2 separate regions of the Homo sapiens genome follow, and region 2 is linked to region 1. The links are contacts of gene promoters, found by promoter capture Hi-C in blood cells and fetal thymus (Javierre and others, 2016). All regions are on one chromosome and are shown on one strand. The core of a region is centred on a gene start or on the middle of the fragment in contact, and the rest is flanking DNA. Distances in the headings are between cores, read along the strand shown. Region 1 holds the start of SCAT2 (S-phase cancer associated transcript 2). Region 2 overlaps COPZ1 (coat protein complex I subunit zeta 1).

The links. Contacts are between HindIII fragments. The CHiCAGO score rates a contact against its expected background, and 5 or more counts as called.
Region 2: a fragment that was not itself captured here is called in contact with the fragment with the promoter of SCAT2 in region 1 in 3 of 17 cell types (erythroblasts, neutrophils and megakaryocytes); the score reaches 8.3 in erythroblasts.

What each region holds. Positions count from the first base shown.
Region 1 is chr12:54,259,890-54,266,031 of GRCh38, forward strand. It overlaps SCAT2 (S-phase cancer associated transcript 2), which reads left to right and starts at 2,726. Exons shown (of 2, transcript NR_157844.1): 1 at 2,726-3,048. The region is part of intron 1 of CBX5 (chromobox 5); the gene reads right to left. The HindIII fragment of the contact is 3,994 bases long and covers 650-4,643 here.
Region 2 is chr12:54,337,621-54,343,762 of GRCh38, forward strand. It overlaps COPZ1 (coat protein complex I subunit zeta 1), which reads left to right. Exons shown (of 9, transcript NM_016057.3): 2 at 2,927-2,995; 3 at 4,586-4,667; 4 at 5,605-5,696. Among named protein-coding and RNA genes, the nearest start is that of MIR148B, 3.5 kb to the left of the region's middle. The HindIII fragment of the contact is 2,332 bases long and covers 1,176-3,507 here.

The sequences.
Region 1 (6,142 bases), core at 1,476-3,975:
TACAGCTCAACTGAAGGGGGAGGGGAAAGGCTCGATCCTTCTACAACACGATCAGTACAAACCACCCATCACTTAATCCAGCCCACCAGAGCACTTTGGGCAATCCCATTTTACCGTCTGTCACAGAACAGTTAATTAAAATTGCTTGAGGGGAAAAATAACAGGAAACAGGGGAGGGGAAGTATTTTAAAGACACTATATAACTTTCCTTCTTTGGGGGGATTACTAGAGACAAAATCCAAAGACATGAAGCACTACCAAAACAACAACCAAAAAAAAAAAAAAAAAAAACCCCTTTTAACTAAAATTAGAGGTGGAGGGCCAGGTGCAGTGGCTCATGCCTGTAATCCCAGAACTTTGGGAGGCCGGGACGGGGCAATCATTTGAGGTCACGTGCTCAAGACTAGCCTGACCAACGTGGTGAAACCCCGTCTCTACTAAAAATACAAAAAAATTAGCCAGGTGTGGTGGCAGGCGCATATAGTCCCAGCTCCTCAGGGGGCTGAGGGAGGAGAAATCGCTTGAACCCAGGAGGCAGAGGTTGCAGTGAGCCTAGATCGCACCACTGCACTCCAGCCTGGGCGACAAGAGTGAGACTGTCTCGAAAAAATAAAACAAAATGAATTTAGGTGGAAAAAAATTCCTAAGAAGCTTAAAAAAAAAAAAGAGGAGAGCAGTTCTGCCACAACCTAATGGTTGATAAATTTAAACCACTTATAGGTTGCTCTATAATGTTATAAAACAGATTTTTAAATAATTATTCATCACCTGATACATTATTAATATACAACTCTCTGTATCAGTATGTCTCAATACTTGAGAAAAGGAGTACTAGGATAAATAAAAAAGATATATAGAGACTTGAAATACTGTAAGTTTTCCATTCTTCTGGCTCTAAAGAACATTTTAGAGAGCTCCAAAACTCTACTCTGCTTTATAGATGTGGGAACTTTAAAGCCAGAAGTGGCTGCCATAGGAGAGTAAGAAAAAGGGACAATCAAAAGCAAAGAACTCAGTTGAGCCAGGAACAGTGGCTCACACCTGTAATCCCAGCACTTTGGGAAGCCGAGGCAGGTGGATTACCTGAGGTCAGGAGTTCGAGACCAGCCTGACCAACATGGTGACGCCCCATCTCTACTAAAAATGCAAAAATTAGCCAGACATAGTAGCACTTGCCTGTAATCCCAGCTACTTGGGAGGCTAAGGCAGGAGAATCGCTTGAACCTGGGAGGCAGAGGTTGCAGTGAGCCGAGACTGCGCCACTGCACTCCAGCCTGAGCAACAAGAGCGAAACCGTCTCAAAAAAAAAAAAAAAAGAACTCAGTTGAGAAGAAGCACAATGGTGACTATTACGACTGTCAAACAGAAGAAACCATAGGGTGTAAGACCAAAGTAGAAATTTTTTTCTTTTTTCTTTTTTTTTTTTGAGACGGAGTCTCGCTCTGTCACCAGGCTAGAGTGCTGTGGCGCCATCTCGGCTTACTGCAACCTCCAACTCCCTGGTTCAAGGGATTCTCCTGCCTCAGCCTCCCAAGTAGCTGGGATTACAGGCATGTGCCACCACGCCCAGCTAATTTTTGTATTTTTAGCAGAGATGGGGTTTCATCATGTTGGCCAGGATGGTCTCGATTTCCTCATCTTGTGATCCGCCCACCTGGGCCTCCCAAAGTGCTGGGATTACAGGCATGAGACACTGCACCCGGCCAGAAATTTTTTAATTACAAAAGATTTCCTCAGATTTGAATGGACCATCAGCAAACCTCCAATTAAAAACGGCATTTTTCAACTCTTACCTTTTAACTTTTCATAATTAAGGGATATAAAAACAATAACAAACATTTAAATAGGATCCTGACTCTGATTAACTTGCCATGTGTTATCCTGAGTAAATAAATTTTCCATCTAACCCCGGCATCATTTAAACGGGCTAAATAAATCTGTACTACCTGCCCTACGTACCTCCGAGGGAAAAAGTGAGTTTATGTTGAAACCAAAGATCTATTAAGTCCCCCAAAAAGAACCTTCTGTAAAAATATGTCAGGGCTGAATACAACAGCAGAAGAAAATATGTGACCTTCCAAATTCCTAAGCTAGTAAACCATATCACATGCAGTAACTCCTGCAGCTCAACACATTAGTAGATAGCAAGAAAAAGAGGAACAGTGTCTTTGTTAACTAGGCACTGGAAAACGAATAAACCTTCAGAGAACAGGGTAGGTACGTTCTCTCTCAAGGGCAAAATACTTATTCCTTAAAACTCAGACAAACTTTAAAGATGGCAGAATGAAAAGACTAATAGTAACTCTGTGAAGGAATAAGGAACAGGAGAGAATGACAGCAATACTAACATTTTGGTGAAACCTTTCAGAGAAAGAAAAGTGAATTTAATGAGGAAAGAGACAAAAATATTCTGGTGTCCACCCCTCCCCACAAAACATCAGAAAATAAAGATTGAGTTCAATTCCCTCCTTTCCACCCTTAAGAACTGCCTAAAGGGCACATGGGCCGAGGTCCTTTTCTTTTTGGGAAATGGGTTTTGTAACCACTGACAAATCGAATTGGGCCTGATGCCAGGAGTCAGAGTACAACCATAATATTCTTTAAAGGATGGCATGCAATTGTCTTGTAAATCTCCTAGACAGTCACAGATCAGAAGCTGGCAAGGATGACGACATAGTTCTGATGGAATGTGTCTTATCTTAACCTTGAAGTTACAGATCTGCTCAGGAGCAGCAGTAAGAAATGAGAAATGCACTCAGACATCGGAGGGGACATAATTCTCTTTTAGACAGTGTGACCCGGAGTATTAGGGTCAAATGAAACACAAAGCCAGTCAAACAATTTAAGGGCTAGAGCCTAGACCAGATAAAGCATCAAGACTGGTGGTTCACACTGAGCTTAGGAGGAGGGAGCTTTCCAGCATGAGAAATGAGACATGGCTGGCAGGATGATGGAGTGATTAAGATAGAATCCCAATACCATGACAGAGGAAAAGAAGATGAGCCTCTGAACACAACCTTATCCTTGTGGAAATCTCCAAGGGAAAGGGTGAGTAGCTTCTCAAATTTCTGGAGTCTTTCAGGCATAACAGCTCTCAGCCTTCTCTCTTAAATATACATAGGAACTATCTGGTAAAGCTACCAATAACTATAGATTACAGCACCTAAGGCCCATTGAGATGAGAAAAGAGGCTGGGCGCGGTGGCTCACGCCTGTAATCCCAGCACTTTGGTAGGCCGAGGCGGGCAGATCTCCTGAGGTCAGGAGTTCCAGACCAACCTGGCCAACATGGTGAAACCCTGTCTCTACTAAAAATACAAAAATTAGCCAGGTGTGGTGGCAGGCACCTGTTATCTCAGCTACTTGGGAGGCTGAGGCAGGAGAATCACTTGAACCCAGAAGATGGAGGTTGCAGTGAGCCGAGATCAAGCCATTGCACTCCAGCCTGGACAACAAGGGCAAAACTCCGTCTCAAAAAAAAACCAAACAAAAAACTTATCAGTCCTCAGCAATTACAGAGAGGGCATCACAAGCAAGCTAGGGCAACCCAGAAAAACAAGAGGTAGGCCGGCACAGCGGCTCTCGCCTGTAATCCCAGCACTTTGGGAAGCCAAGGCAGGTGGATCATGAGGTCAGGAGTTTGAGACCAGCCTGGCCAACATGGTGAAACCCCGTCTCTACTAAAGACACAAAAAAATTAGTCAGGCGTGGTGTAATCCCAGCTACTCGGGAGGCTGAGGCAGTTACGCACCTGTAATCCCAGCTACTCAGGAGGGTGAGGCAGGAGAATCGCTTAAACGGGAGGCGGAGGTTGCAGTGAGCTGAGATCGCGCCACTGCACTCCAGCCTGGGCAACAGGGTAAGACTCTATCTCAAAAAAAAAAAAAAAAAAAAAGAAAAGAAAAAAGAAAAAAAAAGGCCAGGCGCAGTGGCTCACGAGGTCAGGAGATTGAGACCATCCTGGCTAACATGGTGAAACCCTGTCTCTACTAAAAATACAAAAAATTAGCCAGATGTGGTGGCGGGAGCCTGTAGTCCCAGCTACTGGGGAGGCTGAGGCAAAAGAATGGTGTGAACCCAGGAGGCGGGGCTTGCAGTGAGCCGAGATCGCACCACTGCACTCCAGCCTGGGAGACAGCGTGAGACTCCGTCTCAAATAAAAAAGAGGTAATGGTTAGCCCTCAGCATTGACCGTTTAATGCTGGAAGAACCCACATAGGGTCCCTGGTATCTGTCTGCTTTGTCCAGTTCAGGTTCTACTCTCATCCCTCCAGTCATTTCTTTTTTGAGACAGGGCCTCGTTCTGTTGTTCAGGCTGCAGTGCAGTGGTGCGGACAGTTTATTGCAGTCTCAAACTCCTGGGCTCAAGCAATCCTCTCACCTTGGCCTTCTGAGCAGCTGGGACCACAGGGGCACGCCACCATGCCTGGCTACATTTTTTTATTTTTTGGTGAGATGCAGTCTCACTGTGTTGCCCAAGCTGGTCTCAAACTTCTGGGCTGAAGCAATCCTCCTGCCTTACCCCCACAAAGCAGTCACTACTTCTCAATACCAATTCTGGTGGCTTTTCTTATCTTGTTATAGTCATTTCATTTTCATCACCACTTATGAGCAAAAGTACACATAATTCTAGATCTTTCACTAAGCTTTCTTCTTATTAAGAATGAAAGCCAGCCGGGCGCAGTGGCTCATGCCTGTAATCCCAGCACTTTGGGAGGCCAAGGTGGGTGGATCACCTGAGGTCGGGAGTTTGAGACCAGGCTGGCCAACATGGCGAAACCCCATCTCTACTAAAAATACAAAAATTAGCCAGGTGTGGTGGCAGGTGCCTGTAATCCCAGCTACTGGGGAGGCTGAGGTAGGAGAATCGCTTGAATCTGGGAGGTAGAGGTTGCAGTGAGCCAAGATTGCGCCACTGCACTCTAGCCTGGGAGACAAGAGTGAAACTCCATCTCAAAGAAAAAAAAAAAGAAAAAGAAAGCCAATTGGTAAGCTGCCTCACTGAACTACCCACTGAATTAAAGATGGTAATCAAACCAAATGTCAAGATGCATAATCAATGAGCTCTCCATTGTAGAGTTTCAACATAAATTCTATAAGCCCCCTAACTAAGCAAAATCCTTTAGGAAGTAAGCCAGGGTTAAAGAGCAGAGGAGAGCGCATATGCAAAGCTCCCTATCACATGGATTAATTAGATATGCCATTGATGAGTGGTTGCAGTTGGCCCAGACTTGCACGATTCCCACTTCTCCTTAAGGCCCTTAGGGAGAGAGTGGCTTAGGTGAAGATTAAATTGTCAGCTACAGCACTGTCTTCAAAGCATCCTCTATATAGCCTTATTGCAGCAAATAAAACAGATGAAAATAAACCAAACTTACAGAAACATTTTAATCTGCTCTATGTTCCTTGCTCTTTATGGAGCTTGAAGTACTGATGGTTTTAGGTGTGTAACACAAACAGCATAAAACTAAAATATCCCCTATAAAGATGTTTTCTTGCAGTGGATTTATGATTTCCAAAGTATTAGCCATGTGGCATTTTAACAAAAACACAGCATAGAGATGCACATTACAGCTGTCCTGGCTGTCTCAGGTTTTGTTAAATGGGCTGATAACTATCACTCCACCTCCACCAAAAGCCCATGAGCACACAATTCAAGAGGAGTTAAAAGCTTTTTAAATGTCTGTTTAAGAGACTAGATTAGGAAAGAGTTGAAGAGAAAGATTAACTATGGTCGTTAACACCCCTATCATTAACGAGCCACATATAGACAACACAAACTTTATTAAAAGAAGAGAGCATGGAGGCAAGAAATGTTCTCCCATTGGCTAGCACAGCTCTAGTTCATGATCCTTTAAAAATCAGGCCAAGAGGCTGGGCACAACGGCTCACGGCTGTAATCCCAGCACTTTGGGAGGCTGAGGCAGGCAGATCGATCACTTGACGTCAGGAGTTCAAGACCAGCGTGGCCAACATGGTGAAACCCCATCTTTACTAAAAATACAAAAATTAGCCAGGTAAGGCGGTGCACGTCTATAATCCCAGCTACTCAGGAGGCTTAGGCAGGAGAAGCGCTTGAACCTGGGAGGTGGAGGTTGCAGTGAGCGGAGATGGTGCCACTGCACTCCAGCCTGGGCAACAGA
Region 2 (6,142 bases), core at 1,092-3,591, 77 kb after region 1:
GCAGTCAGGAGGTGGCAGGAGAAGTAAAGAAGCTGCTGGCTCCAGCTGTAGCAGAATGGAGAATTGAAGCGGCATTTAAGCGCCTGCCTAAATTCTCAGCTTTATTTAGTATGCTTCCTCCTTTGGAAGTTTGAAATGACCAGCCTTTTCTGTAATGCCTTCTTTCCCTTTTGAGAGCTCCAGTAAGCTCTATGTCAAATCTAGTCTTTATCCTTGTCCTCCTTAGCCTGTCTTTTATTCTTCCCAGGAAGATCCAATGTTTCTATTTTTGGGGTTTCTTTGATAATGTCTTCTAGGAAGCCAGTGAAAAGAACCAAGAGCAGAACCCAGGGATATGTTCTCTCTTTGCCGGTGTGGCTGTTGTAGGCACTCACACCCTGTTGGCCACAAAGGACATTGTCTGACTCTCCCAGTTGGCTGGGGGCCATTAGGGCTTTGCTTTTCTTTGGGTTCTAGGGATGCCAAACTCTATGGCTGCAAGAACCAGTTTCCTATGCCAGGTTAATGCCCAGCTTAAACTAATGGGCAGCTCTCTAAAGTTGCTGTGAATGTGGATAGAGGAACAGAGCCAAAGATTTCCAGGAAAAGGTTGTGGGAAAAAATGATTTCGTCTAAATTTTGTTCCTTTTGGACTTCTTTTCTTCCATTAAGAAAACTCATTCCCATTGTTGTCTCCCTTTTGGAATTGAGGACCCAAGTTGTTATAGAACTGAGCCTGCTTTACAGGAAGATCTTTCTGTGAGGAATTAGGAGTTAGGAGAGCTGCTTCTACTTGTGACCTTTTAAGACTAGACTCTAGAGGACTTCCCTCCACTAGGCAACAAAGTTCTTTAGTTTGAGAGAGGAGTTACTCATGCCTTGTTTATTCCAGAGTGTTATATATACAGGATGGACATCTCTAAGGAGTGTTTATCAGAGGAGGGATAAAGTTGGTAGTAATATCACCCAAAGTGGCCACATCAGAAAATCCACTTATATGTGGAGGTCTAATTATAAGTAGTCCCTTAGATGCATACTGCGTCAAGGTATTTTAACTTTATTCTCAAACTTCCTTTATTCTCTGAATTATTCACCAAATATTGAGAGTTTAGTATGTGTCAGGCATTGTTCTGGACAAATGGGACAAACCAGCGAACAAAACAAAAATTGCAGTCCTCAAGAATTCAAGTAGGGAAAGCTTATGTTCCTCATCACCTTGTTGTCAAAAGACTGGGTTCCTTTTACTTCCATTCTGAACTGCCCTCCTCTGCCCCCGCAAACAGGGTTGATTCTTTGCATGGAACCATAAACCTCCTGAAGCCTCATGAGGCAATTTATGTTTGTAGAGGCTGCAGTTTCTGGGTTCTTGGCAATGATTTTTTCCTCCTCACTCTTGGATATCTGTCAAACACATACTTTTGTGTTTGGCTCCTGTGAGGACTGTGGGTTTCTTAAATAAGGCCAGGAAAGAGGTAGCAAAGCAACAGCCTTGTCTCAGCACAAGGGATATCAATGGTAAGTAATGTTGATTAGAAAGTCAAGGAATGTAGGTCGGGCGCAGTGGCTCACACTTGCACTTTGGGAGGCCTAGGTGGGAGGATTGTTTGAGCCTAGGAGTTCAAGACCAGCCTGAACAATACAGTGACACCTTTTCTCTTAAAAAAAAAAAAAAAAAAAAGAAAGTCAAGGAATGTGAGGCTGCAAATACCTTTCATGCACACATCACTATCTCTCCACACTTTTGGTTTTTTCTATTCAATCAATTAGAGATGGGGTTTCACTCTGTCACCCAGCCTGGAGTGCAGTGGCGCAGTCCTAGCTCAGCGTGGTCTTAAACTCCTGGGCTCAAGAGATCCTATCACCTCAGCCTCCTGAGTAGCTAGGACTATAGATGCACGCCACCACACCTGGCTAATTTTTTTTATTTTTGTAGAGATGGGGGGTCTCCCTGTGTTTCCCAGGCTGGTCTTGAACTGGCCTTAAGCAATCCTCCTGCCTCAGCCTCCTGCGATTTTCCTTCTCCTAGTTAGCTGGCTCCCTTGAAGTTGCAGTGGTAGAGGAGAGCAACAGACCACCACAGGTTTTGCAAGTGATATACTTACAGTTGAAGAAGAACCATTAAGACTGAGGCCGTGATTCCTTATTTGATTCTTGGTAGTGGAAAAAAAATTACCCTCTTGCTCACTCACTCTAGGCCCCAGAGTGTTTCTCAGATAGATCATCTTCTCACTGCTTCTTAACTCCCCCAAAATTCAGGTTGGCTTTTGTCCTTGGAAGTTAAGTGGTAGTGGTTAAGGTATAGTGGAAGAATTGGAGAACATAGGAGAGTTTTTGAAGATGGCTGTTTTACTAGGCTGCATTGAGAACTGGTGTGCCTGTGCGTGTGTGTGTGTGTGTGTGTGTGTGTGTGTGTGTGTGTGTAAACGCTCTTTTCCCTCTGCTTAGTGTGTGGGTGGTTTAGGGAAGGCTTGCTTTATGCTTCTGCATTGCTACTGCATTCGGACTGCAGAAACTTCCAAGTATACTAGGACATTCAACCCTATTTTCAAATGGCTTTGTTCAGTGCCTTTTAATTAATCTGGTCACATTCTATAGCCACCTGTACATGGGAGAGCAGGAAGGGAGAGGGTAATTTGGAAAATAACTGTACCATAATATTTGGAAATAACAGCATGACCTCTCTTGATTAAGCCCCCTGTGAGTCAGAGAAACTGTTTCTCTGATGGTACTTTGGAATCCTTTGTTTAAATGCTTTCTCTGTCAATTCAGTTTACTTACCCTGGGTCTTTCTCAATGGGAAATATCAAAATCTGACCAAGTTGAGGTAAGGGACTTACAGAGGTACCTCTGTATCCCCTTGCAGCCCCAGTGGGACTAGGGGAAGGTATCTGGTTTACCAGTGGTGATGGGAGGCTTCAGGACTGAAGGTATGTTCGTATCTCTTCAGGAACCTTCCCTGTATACTGTCAAAGCCATCCTGATTCTGGACAATGATGGAGATCGACTTTTTGCCAAGGTGAGATTCCCTTTCGAATTAGTTTAGGAACAGCACAAAGGTTTATTCTGAGATTTGAATCTTGGGACTGATACCTTATTAACTTATGTTCCTCAGTAGTATAATTTTGAGAATACTTCCATCTTTTTTTTTTGAGATGGAGTTTCGCTCTTATCACCCAGGCTGGAGTGCAATGGCGTGACCTTGGCTCACTGCAGCCTCAGCCTCCCAAGTAGCTGGGATTACAGGCACGCGCTACCACCCCCGGCTAATTTTTTGTATCTTTAGTAGAGACAGGGTTTCAGCAGGTTGGCCAGACTGGTCTCAAACTCCTGACCTCATGATTCGCCCGCCTTGGCCTCCCAAAGTGTTGGGATTACAGGTGTGAGCCACCACACCCGGCCTGAATTCTTCCATCTTATCTTGCCTACTCCAGATAAAACCTGTTTTCTTTTGTCCCTTAGTTGTACTGCTGCCCTGCTTGCTGTCCTCAGACTTTGACCTCCTTTGTTGTCAGCATCAGATCAGGGAAAAGCTTTGAAACTTTGGTTCCTAACAAAGCAGTATGTAGATGCTAAGAGGCAGTCCGCCCATGTCCATCATTCCTGTCCCCTTCCCTCATACCATGTCACCCTGCCTGGGTTTTTCCAGAGAATTGTCTTGCAGTTCCAGGTTTCCATTCCTAGGTTTATAGTCACCATCAAGCTTGTTACCTCCTGACTTTCCCAGAGTGATGTTTCCAACTTTAGATCTGTTGGAAGAAAGAAGAAAGGACACCCTCTCTCCCTCCATATTCTCCCCCTCCTGTAGAAATTTCTTCTGTCCCTGGTGTATTAACTCCGGGCGAGCGTAGCATAAATCAATCAGCAGGTAGAGATTAGTTTAGAATTCACCAGCTGTTCCTCCCTGTAATTGGATGTAACTATGCAGGACACCTTTTGAAACAGTTATCCAGTTACTAAATGCCAGACCTGTCATGGGTCTTCAGCTGACTGCGACGGATTAGCCCCTAAAGAGCTAGCGATTTAGCAGCCTGCATCTCCGCCCCCTTTGCCAGGGAGAGCCTGGGAATGGGCTCAGTGGTATGCTGGATGCTTCTTTCAGCTTGCAGAAAAGAAAGCTAAGATAGATCATAGGGCAGGGTTTGCCTTTCTTTGGAGGAGGTTTTTGTAGCCTTTCCCCATTCCTCAGCTTCATACAGTGAGTGAGGGTCTATGGAAGTGTTCTGTGCTTCTAGTGTTTTTTGTGTTCTCTGGCACTGCTTCCTGACATGGGGTAGCTCCTAGGAAACACTTGATGAGAATGGTTTTAGGAGAGGTCTAGATTGCAGACAGCTGCAGAGCCTCACTGTAGGGCTGGTAGGCTTCTGCCTTCAGACAGTCTTGGAAATGTGAGGTGGGGTTGCTTATGGCAGGGTCTTTTATTTATTTTTCTTGGATTACTCACTGCCCATTCTCTGCCTCTACAATCCTTCCTTTTCCATGTCAGTATTTCTCCCTTGCCCCATGCCTTGAAGGAGAGAAATCCAAGATCCCAGGGCAAAACATAGTCACTAATCATTCTGGCTTCCAGCTCTAGTGACCCAACCCTGTCTTCTTTCCCTCTGACCAGTACTATGACGACACCTACCCCAGTGTCAAGGAGCAAAAGGCCTTTGAGAAGAACATTTTCAACAAGACCCATCGGACTGACAGTAGGTCATTTTCCTTTCACTACTACCCGTGCTGGGGGGAACCATGGTGGAAAGGGGGTGGTAACAGGGCTGCAGAGAAAGGATGAAATGACTCTGCCTTTTTCTTTTTTTTTCCTTCTTCCCCTTGTATAATAAACTCTTCAGAATGTAATGGGGAGGTGAGTGTACCTCACGCGGGAATACCATGCTGGAAGGTTGGCTGTTAGCTACCTGTCTAGTCCCTGGATTTATGAGCCTCACTTGACAAATTTAATTGCAGCTCTGCTTATTGTACCGCATCCATTAGGGCAGGTAAATGGAAGTCTGTAAAGGTGACCGCTCTGCATTTTCACCTCCGAAGGATCGACTAGTATCCTGTCTCATATACAAGTAGGGAAATAGGTATAGTGGGCAGGAACAGAGGATGGTGGTTACAGAAGATACATTTAGACTCCCCCAAGTTCATACTTCTCTTCTCCTGCCACCACCCAAAAAGTGCAGATCATCTTCTGGCTTTGGAAGTCATTACAGGCGGCCTCACCTTAGCCCAAAAGAGCTGGATACTAGGAATTCATGGTAACGCCTTCTTTTTTTTTTTTTTTTTTTTTGAGACAGAGTCTCTCTCTGTCACCCAGGCTGGAGTACAGTGGCGAGATCTCGGCTCCCTGCAACCTCCGCCTCCCAGGTTCAAGTGGTTCTCCCATCTCACCCTCCTGAGTAGCAGGGATTACAGGTGCACACCACCACGCCCGGCTAATTTTTGTATTTTTAGTAGAGACGGGGTTTCACTGTGTTGGCCAGGCTGGTCTTGAACTCCTGACCTTAGGTGATCCGCCAGGCTCGGCTTCCCAAGGTGCTGGGATTACAGGCATGAGCCACTGCGCCTGGCTGGTAACTCCTTCTTTCCTACTTCCTTATCTCAAGCCACCCACTATTTTTACTTTTTTTCCCCCACCAGGTGAAATTGCCCTCTTGGAAGGCCTGACAGTGGTATACAAAAGCAGTATAGATCTCTATTTCTATGTGATTGGCAGCTCCTATGAAAATGAGGTGAGAATCCCCACCCCTCTTTGCTATTTCTGATCCTACTTTCTAAACCACAGGCAGTACATAGCCACTGGTTTGGGGCCCTAATAGAGCCGTGTTCCTCTGGCTTCTGACCAAGCTAATGAAGTTGTCAGAGATCCCACCAGCCTCACAAACATGGCCCGGCAAATGAATCGCCTAGAAAGGAAGTTTTCCTAGATTAATCTTTTGCATCCATTAGGAAACATCATATATGTTTTAATACCTTTCCCTGAGTAGTGTTTTTTAAGATGGATTTCTGAGGTATGGTCAAGACTGCAGGGGGATACTTGCTTCTTCTATGAAGGGTCCATACCTGACTGAGTTTGAGCCAATTAGCTAACAACCTGGGTCATGTTGAAACCATACATTCTGAATGGATCACTGGAGAAGACCTTGGGTATAGTCCTAACCTGCTTCCTATATGCAGG